Regions from separate parts of the Homo sapiens genome. Here region 1 is linked to region 2. Evidence: promoter capture Hi-C in human tissues and cell types (Jung and others, 2019). All regions are on one chromosome and are shown on one strand. The core of a region is centred on a gene start or on the middle of the fragment in contact, and the rest is flanking DNA. Distances in the headings are between cores, read along the strand shown.

Region 1 (3,901 bases), core at 102-2,601, 260 kb before region 2:
CAGGCAAGCCACAGCCTCAGTTTCCTCATTTGTACTGCTCTTCTGGCATCTATCACGCCCACCCTGATGGAGTCATGTTAGGAGATCATGCTGCCTTCTCTCTCCTACTAGGCTGCAGTCCCTATTAGAGGAGAATCTGGGTCTCACTAAAAGGGTGAATAAGGTTCAATCCCTAAAGGCAAGGAGTCCAGGGTCAAGGCACGACATGACAAGCACAAAGTCTATAATTTCATGATCACATGGTAAGTGTGGTGATAAGGTAAGCTTAAAAAGAAAGGGGGGCTGGGCGCAGTGGCTCACACCTGTAATCCCAGCAGTTTGGGAGGCCAAGGCAGGAGTGTTGCTTCATCTCAGGAGTTTAAGACCAGCCTGGACCACATAGTGAGACCCTGTCTCTACCAAAAAATAAAAATTCTAAAAAAATCGCCAGGTGTAGTGGCATGTACCTGTAGCCCCAGCTACTGAAGAGGCTGAGGTGGGAGGATTGCTTGAGCCCTGGGGATCAAGGCTGCAGTGAGCTGTGATCACACCACTGCACTACAGCCTGGGCAACAGAGCAAGATCCTGCAGAAAGAAAGGAAAGGTGGCCAGGCACGGTGGCTCACGCCTATAATCCCAGCACTTTGGGAGGCCGTAGGCGGGTGGATCACCTGAGGTCGGGAGTTCAAGACCAGCCTGACCAATATGGAGAAACCTTGTCTCTACTAAAAATTCAAAATTAGCCAGGTGTGGTGGCGCACACCTGTAATCCCAGCTACTCGGGAGGCTGAGGCAGGAGAATCGCTTGAACTTGGGAGGCGGAGGTTGTGGTGAGCCAAGATGGCGCCATTGCACTCCAGCCTGGGCAACAAGAGCAAGACTCCATCACAAAAAAAGTAATAATAATAATAAAGAAAAATAAAGAAAGAAAGGGAAGGAAAGAAGGGAGGGAGGGAGGGAGATACTTAACCCAGTCTGAGAGAGTCAAGGCCTCCTGAGGCTACAGCAGCTAAGCTGAGACTCACTGTTGAGTGGAAGCCAGCCAGTAGAGGGGGGCTGTGAGGTGTGGAGGATCTTCCAGGAAGAGGAAAGGCACAAAGGTAGGACACAGTGTGGGGTCTGCAGAGAACCATAAGCAATTTGTTGGGAGGCCGAGAGTGCTAGAAAGGAGGTAGGAGAGGAAGGACAGGGCCAGGCCTTGTAAGATTTTACTTATGTATATTATATGCCTTTGTGTCATCCAAATACATAACAAAATGCATTCTATACAGTGGGCCTTCCATAAATACTTTCAAAAATGAATACGATGATTGGCTGGGCGTGGTGGCTCACACCTGTAATGCTAACACTTTGGGAGGCTGAGGCGGGTGAATCACCTGAGGTCAGGAGTTTGAGACCAGCCTGGCCAACATGGTGAAACCCCATCTCTACTAAAAATACAAAAATTAGCTAGGCGAGATGGTGGGTGCTTGTAATCCCAGCTACTTGGGAGGCTGAGACAGGAGAATCACCTGAACCCAGGAGGCAGAGGTTGCAGTGAGCCAAGATTGCACCACTGCACTCCAGCCTGGACGACAGAGCGAGACTCCGTCTCAAGAAAAAAAAAAAAAAAAGAGTACAATGAGATGATGGATTAAATGTTCTCGAAAGTTCTTTCCAGCCCTTGAAAGCCAGTGTTGCCACTCAAGGCCCCGCTGAGATTTGAGTTCCAAATATTCCCCAGTCTTTAATGGAAGAGTATCAAACCTCATCTATGGGCTTATCTCACAAAATGTTTGCTCTGTAGAGGTATCTGTTCGGGCAGGAGACAAGGCAATGTTAAATTCACCCTAAAGGTTTAAGTTGTACCAGTTGGCTGGGTTTTCTCTGCCCCCCAGGTGAGTTGTCAAAACCAAGCCAGGCCCAGAGACAGTCACGCTGGAGGGGTAAGAACTATGGCCTTTTGCCAGGCGCGGTGACTCACACCTATAATCCCAGCACTTTGGGAGGCCGAGGGGGGCAGATCACCTGAGGTTGGGAGTTCAAGACCAGCCTGGTCAACATGGAGAAAGCCTGTCTCTACTAAAAAAAAAAAAAAATACAAAATTAGCCAGGCGCGGTGGCTACTACTTAGGAGGCTGAGGTAGGAGAATCACTTGAACCCAGGATGCGGAGGTTGTGGTGAGCTGAGATCGCGCCATTGCACTCCAGCCTGGGAAACAAAAGTGAAACTCCGTCTCAACAAAGAAAAAAAAAGAGGACTATGGCCTTTTAACCCACAGGGAAGGGTTCAAGATCCAGGAGAAGCCAGATTGAAGCCAGAAGGAATAAGATAAGGATTCAGACTGATTGGGCTTACCTCCTCCCCTGAGCTCTGAGGCCAGGTGTTCCTGAGATAGAGGAGAGGGTGGAGAGCTGCTGCCGGAGCAGAAGGCAGAGGAAGACAGTACATTCATCTGTGGTGAGCTTTCTCTACACAGACACGGGAAGTGGGACAGGGGTTCAAGAGGAAGTCAGTAGGAAGAGTTTATCCCCTGCACAACAGTTCATGAATGAAGGGCCTTCAAGTGCTTACTGTAAGGCCAGCCCCGTGCCCCAGAAGGCTGCAGGGATTGTGTGCGCCCTCTCCCTATCCATCCCCAACACGAGAATGCTAAATGCTGCAGTGAGGTCTTCAGAATAGAAGCCCTAACCATTGTCTAGGATTCCAGGTACTTTCTGGGTAAAGAAATTAGGGGCAGTGAAAAATTGGAAGTTGGACGGCTGGGCATGGTGACTCACGCCTGTAATACCAGCACTTTGAGAGGCTGAGGCAGGAGGATTGCTTGAGCCTAGAAGTTTGAGACCAGTCTGGGAAACACAGTGAGACCATATCCTTAAAAATAGGCCGGGTGCGGTGGCTCACGCCTGTAATCCCAGCACTTTGGGAGGCCGAGGCAGGTGGATCACTTGAGGTCAGGAGTTCAAGACCAGCCTGACCAACATAATGAAACCCATCTCTATTAAAAACAAAAAAATTTTGGGGTGTGGTGGCTCACACCTGTAATCCCAGCACTTTGGGAGGCCGAGGCAGGTGGATCACCTGAGGTCAGGAGTTCGAGACCAGCCTGGCCAACATGATAAAATCTTGTCTTTACTAAAAATACAAAAAATTAGCTGGGCAGGGTGGTGGGTGCCTGTAATCCCAGCTACTCGGGAGGCTGAGGCAGGAGAATCACTTGAACCCAGGAAGCGGAGGTTGCAGTGAGCCAAGATCGCACCATTGCACCCCAGCCTGGGCAATAAGAGTGAAACTCCATCTCAGAAAAACAAAACAAAATAAAACAAAACAAAGAAACAAAAAAAAATTCGCTGGGCATGGTGGTGTGCACCTGTAGTCCCAGCTACTTGGGAGGCTGAGATGGGAGAATCACTTGAACCCAGGAGGCAGAGGTTGCAGTGAGCCAAGATTGCACCACTGCACTCGAACCTGGGCAACAGGGCAAGTCTCCATCTCAAAATAAATAAATAAATAAATAAGTAAAAATAAAAGTAAAAAATTAGCCAGCCGTGGTGGCTGGCACACACCTATGGTCCCGGCTGCTTGGGAGGTCAAAGCTGGAGGACCACTTGGAGCCCAGGAGTTCAAGGCTACAGCAAGCTATGATCTTGCCACTGGACTCCAGCCTGGGCGACAGAGACCCTGTCTCAAAAATAACAACAGGCCGGGCACGGTGGCTCACGCCTGTAATCCCAGCACTTTGGGAGGCCGAGGCGGGTGGATCACGAGGTCAGGAGATCGAGACCATCCTGGCTAACACGGTGAAACCCCATCTCTACTAAAAATACAAAAAATTAGCTGGGCGTGGTGGCAGGCACCTGTAGTCCCACCTACTCGGGAGGTTGAGGCAGAAGAATGGCGTGAACCCAGGAGGCAGAGCTTGCAGTGAGCCAAGATCGCACC
Region 2 (3,799 bases), core at 1,136-3,635:
CTCTGAGTATTGGGAAGAGAGGCAGGGCCCAGAACAGCTCCCCTACTGAGCAGTGGTGTGGGCCCTAAATTCACTCTGGGCTTGAGTTCCCTCCACTGTAAATTGAGGATAATAATAGGTACTTTGCAAGCCTCATGTGAGGATTAAATGATAACGTATGTGAAAACACTAAATGGAAAAGCTGACCACAATTGCCCTATAAATCTTATTAAGTTCAAGCATTGTCCGGCTCTGGGATCCAGGGAACACCCACTTCTCTCTCGCTCTCTTTTTTTTTTTGTTTGTTTTTTGTTTTTTTGTTTTTTGAGACAAAGTCTCGCTCTGTCGCCCAGGCTGGAAAGTGCCGGCTAATTTTTACATTTTTAGTAGAGACAGGGTTTCACCATACTGGACAGGCTGGTCTCGAACTCCTGACCTTGTGATCCGCCCAACTTGGCCTCCCAAAGTGCTGGGATTACAGGCGTAAACCACCGCGCCCAGCCGGGAACACCCACTTCTAAATTCTCTATCTTATTCCCAGGGGACTTTGTCTTGACCTGGATACATGACCTCTTGCAATCATATACGTACGTCAGGCTTTATCCTTTTGCATTTTTGTGGTTTAATTTTCAAAACTCCAGATTGGCTCTTCAATCATTCATTGCACCAACTTTTATTAAGTACTTCCGCACGTACTAGGCTTCAAGAATACAAAAGTGCCTTCACAGAGCTCAAGGTCCACTGGGGGAGAATTTATCCTCTGTCTCCCCCACTGGAATGTGACCTCTGATGACAGGGGCCTTGTTATTCTTGCTTACAGCAAGTGGAATATTGCTTAAGCCAAAACATATTATTGCTAAATAGGTATTGAATAAACAAAGGAGTGTGTATGAGGGGCAGGTAAATCTGGGGTTGTGGCCCCTAACAAATTTAGCCAGGCATTTTTAGGCCAGGCACGGTGGCTCACGCCTGTAATCCCAGCACTTTGGGAGGCCGAGGTGGGCGGATCACCTGAGGTCAGCCTGGCTAACATGGCAACACCCCGTCTCTACTAAAAATATACAAATTAGCCGGGCGTGGTGGCGAACGCCTATAATCCCAGCTACTCGGGAGGTTAAGGGAAGAGAATCGCTTGAACCCGGGAGGCAGAGGTTGCAGTGAGCCGAGATGGCGTCACTGCACTCCAACCTGGGCAACAGAGTGAGACTTCGTCTCAAAACAAACAAACAAACAAACAAACAAAAAACATACTTAGCCAGATTTTCTCGCTTTTTGTTTTGCAAATTAGGAGTCCATCTGGTGGTCACAGGGGGAAAGGCATTCCAGGAAAGGATATAAGGATACAGAAAGCAATGGAAGAAACAGCATGATCTTTTCTTAGGGGTTCTTAGTCTCCTGTCCCCAAACTTCTTAGAGTTATTCCTGTTGGACCGGGCGCGGTGGCTCATGCCTGTAATCCCAGCACTTTGGGAGGCCGAGGCAGGCGGATCACAAGGTCAAGAGATAGAGACCATCCTGGCCAACACGGTGAAACCCGGTCTCTACTAAAAATACAAAAATTAGCGGGGCGGCGTCTTGGCGCGCGCCTGTAGTCCCAGCTACTCGGGAGGCTGAGGCAGGAGAATCGCTTGAACCCAGGAGGTGGAGGTAGCAGTGAGCCGAGATCGCGCCACTGCGATGCCGCCACTGGGCGACAGAGTGAGACTTCGACTCAAAAAATAAAAATAAAAAAGAATTATTTCTGTTTGTATATGTCTTCTTCTAAGGTAGGGAGGAGTGTCCCGGATTCTCAAGGTGTTAGGGCCCTGAGCTCTCAGAAGACCTCTCAGAGGAGGAAGAGACTTCTGAGCTGACAGGAGTTTTCTCAGCTTCTCCAGTTCGAGGATTCTTGTCCTATCCTCACTCTGATGTCCCCTCACATCCTGGAGGTCTCTGGGTTGCTCTTGCCCCATCCCGTCACTGGTGGGACTCCCGGGAGGTCACTTCCATCCCTAGCCCTGGTCTCTGCTCTGTCTCCACTCTCACTGCTGGAATGTTTCCCAGCTTGCTTGGCTGTAAACCTAAGGCAAGTTGCTTGCCATTTTTGAGCCAGTTCCCTCATCTACAAAATAGGAAGGATAATTCTCACCCCCCAAAAATTGTTGTGAGGGTTAAACAAAATACTGCAAAGCGCTAACCATAATTCGTAGCCTATAGTAAATATTCAGTAGGTGATGGTTATTTTAATTCGCCCTCTCTCACTGCCCCTCCTACCCTAGCTCTGGGAGCCTCTGCCTCCGGGAGCAGGAAATAGGGTTCCGGGAGTGGATTAGTTTTGGGTTTCACTTAATCTGGGAGGCCCTTCCGCAATCGGAGCCCTCACAGAGGCCAAACTGATATAAATCTGCTTAGGAGGCCTGATTCACAGACGCTACAGGATGGAGCGGGGCGCAGGAGCCAAGCTGCTGCCGCTGCTGCTGCTTCTGCGGGCGACTGGTTTCACATGTGCACAGACAGATGGCCGGAACGGCTACACGGCGGTCATCGAAGTGACCAGCGGGGGTCCCTGGGGCGACTGGGCCTGGCCTGAGATGTGTCCCGATGGATTCTTCGCCAGCGGGTTCTCGCTCAAGGTTGGGGCTCAGGCGTAGGTCCTGGAGAGGGCGGAGATGCGTGGGACCATAGAGCCAAGGATGATAATTCCGTGACTCGCCCTTGCCCCTCTCCTCGATACCCAGGTGGAGCCTCCCCAAGGCATTCCTGGCGACGACACTGCACTGAATGGGATCAGGCTGCACTGCGCGCGCGGGAACGTCCTAGGCAATACGCACGTGGTAGAGTCCCAGTCTGGAAGGTGGGGCGCAGGGGTCGAGGATCCCTTGGGGTGATGGTATGTCCCTTACCCTCTATTACATACTCCGTCGCAACAGGCAGGCTGGCTCCGCCAGAGCTACGGGGCAGTATAGACCGGGGAGGCGAAGGGTGGATGGAAGACCCCTCCTCCGCTCCTCGGCGGAGGTCGGGGAGCACCCAGCCCACCAGGTCATATACACAGCACTTGGCTTGGAAAGTCTCAAGGGCTTGGTGAATGGGGGGCCCGCAGAGGCAACGCATCTCCCTTTGCCTTGCAGCTGGGGCGAATGGAGTGAGCCGCTGTGGTGTCGCGGCGGCGCCTACCTAGTGGCTTTCTCGCTTCGCGTGGAGGCACCCACGACCCTCGGTGACAACACAGCAGCGAACAACGTGCGCTTCCGCTGTTCAGACGGCGAGGAACTGCAGGGGCCTGGGCTGAGCTGGGGAGACTTTGGAGACTGGAGTGACCATTGCCCCAAGGGCGCGTGCGGCCTGCAGACCAAGATCCAGGGACCTAGAGGCCTCGGCGATGACACTGCGCTGAACGACGCGCGCTTATTCTGCTGCCGCAGTTGAACGGCGCCGCCGCCGCCGCTCTCTCCCGGGCCAGGAGGCTAGTCCCACCTCTTGCTATTAAAGCTTCTCTGAGTTGACTTTGGTCTCGCCTGTTTATTTCATTTATTTATTTATTAATTTATTTATTTGAGACGGAGTATCGCTCTGTCCCCCAGGCTGGAGTGCAGTGGCTCACTCGGCTCACTGCAAGCTCTGCCTCCCGGGTTCACGCCGTTCTCCTGCCTCAGCCTCCCGAGTAGCTGGGACTACAGGCGCCCGCCACTACGCCCGGCTAATTTTTTTTTTTTTTTTTTGTATTTTTAGTAGAGACGGGGTTTCACCGTGTTAGCCAGGATGGTCTCGATCTCCTGACCTCATGATCCGCCCACCTTGGCCTCCCAAAGTGCTGGGATTACAGGCGTGAGACACCATG

Evidence for each region. The method cuts DNA at HindIII sites, captures the fragments that hold promoters and counts their contacts. A contact is called where the count stands out against the background at its distance.
Region 1: a fragment that was not itself captured here is called in contact with the fragment with the promoter of VMO1 in region 2 in 1 of the 25 tissues and cell types used here (heart right ventricle).

Annotation. Positions count from the first base shown.
Region 1 is chr17:5,040,854-5,044,754 of GRCh38, reverse strand. All of the region lies in intron 3 of LOC105371501 (a long non-coding RNA gene), which reads right to left. It also overlaps a transcript of SLC52A1 not described here. Among named protein-coding and RNA genes, the nearest start is that of SLC52A1, 7.4 kb to the right of the region's middle. RefSeq lists a silencer at 957-1,105. The HindIII fragment of the contact is 3,862 bases long and covers 1-3,282 here.
Region 2 is chr17:4,784,950-4,788,748 of GRCh38, reverse strand. It overlaps VMO1 (vitelline membrane outer layer 1 homolog), which reads left to right and starts at 2,385. Exons shown (of 3, transcript NM_182566.3): 1 at 2,385-2,591; 2 at 2,697-2,812; 3 at 3,090-3,464. The coding sequence starts at 2,397. The coding sequence ends at 3,387. The HindIII fragment of the contact is 14,296 bases long and covers 1-3,799 here.